Regions from separate parts of the Homo sapiens genome. Here all the other regions are linked to region 2. Evidence: promoter capture Hi-C in human tissues and cell types (Jung and others, 2019). All regions are on one chromosome and are shown on one strand. Each heading gives the region's core, a stretch centred on a gene start or on the middle of the fragment in contact. The rest is flanking DNA. Distances are from core to core; before and after follow the strand shown.

Region 1 (2,700 bases), core at 152-2,651, 380 kb after region 2:
CGAGCTGAGATCAAGCCACTGCCCTCCAGCCTGGGCGACACAGCAATACTCTCTAAAAAAAATAATAATAATTCAGAACATCCCCAGGTAACCACAGGCAGCATTTCTCAACAGTCTCTCCTGCAGAACCAGAAACCCAGACTGTCTGAGCCTGATTGTCCTGAGAGGTTCTGGAAGGGCAGGGGCGTGTGGTGACACTGGGTGCTCCTGGGTTCCAGTACCTCTCTAGCCAGTTGGAAGAATATAGGCAAGTCAAGTCCTTCCTCCTCCCTGAGCCTCTAATTCCTCACCGGTAAAGTAGGGATGATAAAAATAAATTATTAAATTGTTGTGAGGTTTCAATGAGGGCAAAGCTTGCTGCCTGAAACAGAGCAAGCTCTTGTGGCGTCTTAGCTATTTGTATTAGTTACTTGTATTTTTCTCTGCGGTTTCCCTTTTAACTCCCACCTCCTTTTTATTTTAAAAAGACTCCTTTTGAAAATGCCAGCCTGCCTCAGTAGTACCAGGAGACACCAGGGAAAGGCTTCCTTCTTTCCAAGCTGAGGCTGAGAAGGAATGGGAAGAACGAAGAGAAGCACCTTTGTGGAGGCCTCCTCCAGCTGGCCCTGGGTTTAGGAACATCACACACTCAACCTCCAAAGGCCCTCAGGGGCTGGCCCAAGGTCACACAGCTTGACAGTGCGGAGCACTTCGAAGCCAGGGCGTGTGGTGTAGAACAGGCTGGGTGCCTGAATTCAATCAGCCCTCTCTACTTCTCTACTCAGAGCCTCCCAGGCTGTGGGGTGTTCACCTGTGCACCTTCAAGCCGATCACTTCCTTGGGGTCCTCGTCAATTCAATTCCATGGAAATATTACAAGGGGTAGACAGAGATGAGCCGTGTCAGTGTCTGTACTAGCAGAGGGCAGGACCACTGAGCGTCCGGAGGGGAGACGAGTGTCTGGGTGTCCCTGGGAACCTGGCTTGTCTCGACCCCTCTGGGGGGCTCCTCTTGGCTCTGACCTCCATTCTCCCAGACTCACCCCCACTCATGCCCACCCACCCCGAGGGGCCCCCCAGTGTGCACTCACACACTCACACTCAAACTCACCACCCCACTTGCTCTCTAATTACCAGGAACGTGGCGCTGTCTCAGGTTCTTCCTCCCCTGCATTCCTCAGCAGCTGCCCTCACTGGGCAGGGCAAATTATACCGTGGCCCGACCATAAAAGCCACTTTCCAAAAAAAGAAGCTTTAAGGCCCCCGAGAGACGCAGCTGAGCCTCTCACCTGGCAGTGCCTGACTCAGGAGGTGATGTCTGGGCCATGAGCCACAGAGCCTGGTGTCCCTTTAAGCAGGGAGTACAAATTCTCATCCCTCCCTCCTGCTCTCCCTGACGTCAGCTGGAAGGCGTGTGAGTGAGTGAGGGGCTGAGGTACCGCCCGCGCGAGCACACACAGACACACACACACACACACACACACACACACACACACATCTTCCAGACCCATCCCCTGCCTGCCAGCTCCACGAGCCAGAGAGAGACAGAGCGCGGACGCCGCAGGAGGCAGTGCCTGGACCCCAGCTGCCCAGGAGAGGTGAGGGGCTAGATGGGGCCTGAGGACACTGTGCCAGAAACTGTGGCTTTGGCCAGGCCGAAGGAGAGAGGTACAACGTGAAGGTGGGGGCTGGATCAGCCCAGTTCAGCTTACAGATAGGGTGTTGGGGGTATAGAGGATACCACCTGTCTCTCCCTCCCTCATTCTCTCCCCGTGACCCCCAAATGAGGTGAGGCCGTGTGGCTCCCGTGGGAGCATGTCTGTGTCTGTGTCTGTGTCTGTGTCTGGGACCTGCGTCTGGCTCAGGAGGCAGAGAGCAGCAGATACCTGCCAAGCCGCAGCCTCCTGTCTGGGAAGCAGCGGGAGAGAGGACCGCCTTGACCAGAGAAACCCCAGTGCCGCTTCCAGTTGCTGAAAGCAGAGTGCAGCAGGGACCCTTGCTGGTCCTTCCCCTGGAATGTTGGGCTGGGAAGGGACCGGCTGGGAAAGGCAGACAGTTGGACCTGGAGCAGCTGTCTTATCCTGACTCTATTTTTTCCCCAGTGTGATGGGGATAATTGTGTTAGTTGGCTTAGAGAGGTGGCTCCGTGTGGTTATTCTCTTCCCCCAGGTACCACCCCACCCCGAGCCCTTGCTTCTTGCCTGCCTGCTGGTCTGCTCTGACCTCCACCCTTGCCAGGGCACAGCCCCCGGAGGGCAGGGGTGATAAGTCAGGGCCTGCCAGGCCTCTATCTTGGGATACAGGGACTTAGGGTGGCCTTGGCTGGTGCCAAGCCCATGAATGGCCTGACCCTGGCACAAGGAGTCCAGGCGGAGATAAGGGGCGACGCTGGCACCCACAAGGAGACAGCAGGTTCCTGCCAAGCTGCCAGCCTGCAGGCTCTTCCCAGGGAGAGGGGAGGGGGACACAGAGCGAGAACAATAATAAATACAGAGTGTGAACTGCTGCATCCACTGGGGCTGGGGTAGGAGAGGAGGAAGTATGCCCAGTGGGGGGTGGGCAACCTCTCTGAGAGCCTGGCATCATGCTGCCTGGCTGTGATCCGGCAGGGGCCTCTCCCTGGGAAAGGGGGTCTCCAGCTTTCTGGGGGATGGGGAACTGGTTTCCCAAACCTGACTCCATCCCAGAGTCCTCTGGACCCTCCAAATTCTGAATGTTTCCTC
Region 2 (2,700 bases), core at 146-2,645:
ACGGTGAAACCCCATCTCTACTAAAAATACAAAAGATTAGCCAGGCATGGTGGCACGTGCCTGTAACCCCAGCTACTTGGGAGGCTGAGGCAGGAGAATCCCTTGGACCTGGGAGGTGGAGGTTGCAGTGAGGCCAAGATGGCACCACTGCATTCCAACCTAGGTGACAGAGTGAGACTCCGTCTCAAAAAAAAAAAAAAAAAAAAAATTAACAGGCTGAGCACAGTGGCTCACACCTGTAATCCCAGCACTTTGGGTTTGGGAGGCTGAGGCAGGAAGATCACCTGAAGTCAGTTCAAGACCAGCCTGGCCAATATGGTCACCTCTACTAAAAATACAAAAATTAGCTGGGTGTGGTGACACACGCCTGTAAGTCCCAGCTACTCGGGAGGCTGAGACGGGAGGACTGCTTGAACCCAAAAGGCGGAGGATGCAGGGAGCTGAGATCACACGACTGCACTCCAGCCTGAGCTACAGAGTGGACCCTGTGTCAAAAATTAAATAAAATAAAAAACAAAAGCCTATTTAAAAAATTTTTTTGTTTTCAGACAGGGTCTGTCTCCATTACCCAGGCTGGAGTACAGTGGCACGATCTCAGCTCACTGAAACCTCCACCTCCTGGTCTCAAGTGATCTTCCTGCCTCGGGAAGCTACTCAGCTTCCTGAGTAGCTGGGACCACAGGCACATGCCACCAAGCCTGGCTAATGTTTCTTTTGTTTTGTTTTTTGTTTTGTAGAGATGGGATTTTGTCATGCTAATCTTGAACTCCTCCCAAAGTGCTGGGATTACAAGCGTGAGCCACCATGCCCAGCTGAAAGGCTGACCCTAAAATACATATGAAAATCCAAAGAAGCCAGAACAGCCAAAATAATCTTGAAAAATAAAAACAAATTTGGAGCACTCACACTTCTTGATTTGAAAACTTACCATGAAGCTATAGTAATCAAGACTCTATGGTACTGGCATAAGGACAGACATTTAGATCACTGGAATAGATCTGACAATCCAGAAATAAATCCATACATTTATGGTCAATTGATTGTTTATAAGGTTGCCAAAATAATCCAATGGAGAAAGAGTAACATTTTTAACAGATACTTCTGGAACAACTAGACATCCACATCTAAAAGAATAAAGTTGGCCGGGCATGGTCGCTCACGCCTGTAATCCCAGCACTTTTGGGAGGCCGAGGCAGGCAGACCACGAGGTCAGGAGATCGAGACCATCCTGGCTAACATGGAGAAACCCCATCTCTACTAAAAATACAAAAAATTAGCCAGGCGTGGTGGCAGGCGCCTGTAGTCCCAGCTACTCGGGAGGCTGAGGCAGGAGAATGGCGTGAACCCAGGAGGCGGAGCTTGCAGTGAGCCGAGATCGCGCCACTGCACTCCAGCACTCCAGCCTGGGTGACAGAACAAGACTCTGTCTCAAAAAAAAAAAAAAAAAAAGAATAAAGCTGGAGGCCAGGCACGGTGGCTCACGCCTGTAATCCCAGCACTTTGTAGGGCAGAGGCGGGCAGATCACTTGAGGTCATGAGTTCGAGACCAGCCTGGCCAACATGGTGAAACCCCGTCTCTACTAAAAATTTAAAAATTACCATAGTGATGGGGCCTGTAATCCGAGCTACTCAGATGGCTGAGGTGGGAGAATCACTTGAGCCTGGGACACAGAGGTTGCAGTGAGCTGGATCGCACCATTGCATGCCTGCCTGGGCAATAGAGTAAGCCTCCATCTCAAAAATAAATAAAGTTGGACCCCTACCTTATACCAAATATAAAAATTTACTCAAAATGGATCATAGACCAAAACATAAACACTAAAATATTAAAATCACAGAAGAAAATATAAGTATAGGCCAGGCACAGTGGCTCATGCCTGTAATCCCAGCACTTTGGGAGGCTGAGATGGATGAATCACGTGAGGTCAGGAGTTAGAGACCAGCCTGGCCAATGTGGTGAAACCCCATCTTTACTAAAAATACAAAAATTAGCTGGGCGTGGTGGTGGGCACTTGTAATCCCAGCTACTTGAGAGGCTGAGGCAGGAGAATCGCTTGAACCCGGGGGGCAGAGGTTGCAGTGAGCCATGATCGCTCTATTGCACTCCAGCCTGGGTGACAAGAGTGAAACTCCATCTAAGAAAGAAAGAAAAAAAAAGAAAATATAGTTATAAATTTTCATGATCTTGGAATAGGCAATGGTTTCTTAGATATAACACCTAAAAAGCACAAGCAACCAAAGAAAAAACAAATTAGACCTCAAAACTTTCATGCATCAGAGGACATGACCAAAGAAGTAAAAAGATATACAGAATGGGAGCATATATTTGCAGATCACATATTTCTGTATCTAGACTATACTTAAAAATTTCGGCCGGGCACAGTGGCTCATGCCTGTAATCCCAGCATTTTGGGAAGCTGAGGCGGGCAGATCACCTGAGGTCAGGAGTTTGAGACCAGCCTGGCTAACATGGTGAAACCCCTGTCTCAACTAAAAAAAAAAAAAAAATTAGCCAGGCACAGTGGCAGGTGCCTGTAATCCCAGCTACTCAGGAAACTGAGGCAGCAGAATTGCTTAAACCCGGGAGGCAAAGGTTGCAGTGAGCCAATATCGCGCCATTGTACTCCAGCCTGGGTGACAAGAGCATGACTCAGTATCAAAAAAAAAAAAAAAAAAAAGGCCAGGCACGGTGGCTCACGC
Region 3 (2,700 bases), core at 39-2,538, 280 kb after region 2:
AGCTTAGAAAAGCACCTCGGAGATGATAAGCCTGTATAATTGCTGGCAAAGTGCTGTGTGTTGGGGAGGGGTCATGCTACTCTGGCGATTCTTCCCGTTGAAAACTAGAGAGATACAGCGTTAAATGTGCAAGCGGCAGTGGGGAGTTAGAGGGGCCTTTGGCTAAAGTGCAGCATTCAGTGTTCACATACTTCCAGGCACATCTACTCAAAGCCCTCTTTGTGGCACTTTTGCTGGTTCCACAGAAAACTGGGAGTGGGAAGGGTGGGTTGTTGGGACGGTGTGTTCCACTCACATTTTTCACACAGTCTTCCGATGGCTGCAAGATGAAAGATGGTAAAAAGTACAATTAGAATAAAGGTTTTGAGAAAGAGGAGAAGTACATCCTCGAGCTGGGGGTAGGGACATGAGTAAGGACTGCAGTGAGTGAGACCTGCGGATAGCCATTTTATCATTACAAATTTCCATATGAACCAAACCTACATCCAAGCACCCTCCTGAATCTCCTCCAACGCCCTGGGCAAGCTCAGAGTTTCTCTGGACCTGGTTCAGACCCCACCCCCCGATACCTGCCTGGGGCTCCCAGCACGCGCACCCCCGCCCTCTTCTCATCAGAGGCCACAAACCTGCGCGCTCCTACAACACCCCGCGCCTGAGAGGCGGGAAACGTGGCGCCTGCGAGGCAAGCCCCTAAGGAAGAGACGGGAACCCCCGACCCCCCAGCTCCTAATACCACCCCTGCCCAGACAGCCAGGGGTAGGGCGCAGTCTCACCAACACCAGCCTGCTTGCGGCAAAAGATCAAATCAGGATGATGTTTAGCCATAGCTCCTAACTAAGCCGGCCACCGGAAGCTTCGGGAACTTCCGTCCGACCTTTAACCCCCATTGTTCCTGCCTCCACGTCGCTGTGATTGGTTCTCTAAGCTTCCGTCAGTTTACAATCCTTGCACCAGGCCCGTCTTGCTCTCGCGCGAGTTTTTGTCGCTGCTGGGCGGCCAGGTCCTGGCAGGTGCATGAAACTCTTAAAAACTCTCCCAGATTTGGATGGCGGAGATAACTAAAATTTGTTCTTGGGTAAAACATCTTTGTGCTTGGTATCTATTTCTGCAAGTGTCTTTGGGCAGTCCGATTTCCTCTTGCGTGTCTGTTCGTTGCACGTGAGCTCCGCCCATTGCGTTCACAGGGTTCTGGCGCCTCTAGGGAGGCCTCGCCTTCACCGTGACGCCCCACTCTTCCGGGCACGCCCCTGCCCAAAGGCTTTAAAGGCGCCGTGTGGGACGTCACTTTAATGCGACCTCATCTTTGTCAGTGCACAAAATGGCGCCCTACAGCCTACTGGTGACTCGGCTGCAGGTGAGCGAGCTCAGGGACCTCTGGGTTCACGGGGGCGGGGTGCCTCCTACTGTGCCGGCGGCTGTGGGCGAGGCAGGGCGAGGCGGGCCCAACCTGGGGCCAACTTCTCGTGTACCTGTCCCGGTTGTGGGCCCGGCACCCGTGCCCGCTTCTCTGGTGCCCTAGGTCAAGGCGTCCCCGGCACAGTCAGCTTTCCTGGCCCTGTCCCTGCCTCGCAAGAAGCGTGGGCCCAAGCAGCGGCGGCCGGGTGAAGAGCGGAGGCACCTCTTTCTTCTTTTTGAGGACAGCATTGCCTGCTCCCGTGGGGTGTGTTTCCATTCCTCAAGGTGAGGACAAGGTGACTAGGGGGCGCGGTCGTTGTTGAGTCTTCTAGGCCCAGTTCCTGAGGCCTCACTTCCCATCTCTTAGCAACAGAGGCATGACAGCATCTACGGTTGCCAGGCCTGGAGTCTGGAGAAGAAACTAGGACCCTGTACCACCTTTTGAGGACCCTGCGGAACGTGGAATGTCGGGGAGGGGGGCGGTCTTCTGGGCCCATACGTAGTAAATAATATAATAATAGTCTCTCACCTTTGCACAAGATTTGAGGCCTGTTTTAATTCTTCATAATATTATTTGATTCCTGTAATCGTAGGAATGAGGTGGTTTTTCTCATTTGATAGATGATAAAGCTGGTAGAAAGTAGGTGAAAGTTCTGATTCTCAAGAGTGTCACCGAAGTGCTGTGGCAGAAGCATGGGCCCTACCACCACTCAGTTCTTGTTTATGTCAGCCTGCCCTCACAGAACTTTATGAACCACGGTGCAATTATTTCTGTTTGTCAGAATGCAGTACGAATATTTTGAGCCTCACAATAAGTTGCTTGTCAAATATGGGAGGATAAGGAGACTCCAGTTTGACCTTGACTCCCCTGTTAGGAGCTATCTAGAAAGCTGACTGACTGCCAGATGATTTTTTCACTTCTAACTTGACAGCCCTGGGAAGGTGTTATACTCAGAGGTTCAATGTCAAATGTGTACTTTGTTAATAAAAATCAAGCAAGCATCTGTAGACATTCTCTGTCAACCTTTCACATTTAACTTTGTGAATTCCTTTTGGATCAAGTGGCGCAACTTTGATAATAGAATTTTACGAGTTGTTATGCGTTGTACTCTCAGGAAGCTTGTGGTACTTGAACTTATTTTTCATCACATTGCTTAAATTTAAACTTGAACTTATTTTTCATCACATTGCTTAAATTGAAACCATATGGTTTAAAGTAAAATCATCATTTATCTGAAAGAAAATATTTCTGATCTCAATTCCGGGCTAAGGGAAAGGATTTGCACCTAATTATCTCTTTACATC

What was found. Contacts are between HindIII fragments. The study calls those that stand out against the background at their distance.
Region 1: the fragment with the promoter of CSDC2 here is called in contact with a fragment that was not itself captured in region 2 in 1 of the 25 tissues and cell types used here (heart left ventricle).
Region 3: the fragment with the promoter of ACO2 here is called in contact with a fragment that was not itself captured in region 2 in 1 of the 25 tissues and cell types used here (IMR-90 fibroblasts).

Annotation. Positions count from the first base shown.
Region 1 is chr22:41,559,609-41,562,308 of GRCh38, forward strand. It overlaps CSDC2 (cold shock domain containing C2), which reads left to right and starts at 1,402. Exons shown (of 4, transcript NM_014460.4): 1 at 1,402-1,575. LOC105373044 (a long non-coding RNA gene) reads right to left here and starts at 1,275. Exons shown (of 2, transcript NR_134631.1): 1 at 1,112-1,275. The HindIII fragment of the contact is 6,219 bases long and covers 1-2,569 here.
Region 2 is chr22:41,184,189-41,186,888 of GRCh38, forward strand. EP300-AS1 (EP300 antisense RNA 1) reads right to left here. Exons shown (of 3, transcript NR_110514.1): 3 at 1,026-2,135. Among named protein-coding and RNA genes, the nearest start is that of EP300-AS1, 12 kb to the right of the region's middle. RefSeq lists an enhancer at 311-1,110. The HindIII fragment of the contact is 8,621 bases long and covers 1-2,700 here.
Region 3 is chr22:41,467,829-41,470,528 of GRCh38, forward strand. It overlaps ACO2 (aconitase 2), which reads left to right and starts at 1,289. Exons shown (of 18, transcript NM_001098.3): 1 at 1,289-1,354. The coding sequence starts at 1,319. PHF5A (PHD finger protein 5A) reads right to left here and starts at 864. Exons shown (of 4, transcript NM_032758.4): 1 at 774-864; 2 at 296-319. The coding sequence starts at 825. RefSeq lists enhancers at 594-1,263, 833-1,394, 1,395-1,956. The HindIII fragment of the contact is 2,873 bases long and covers 1-1,719 here.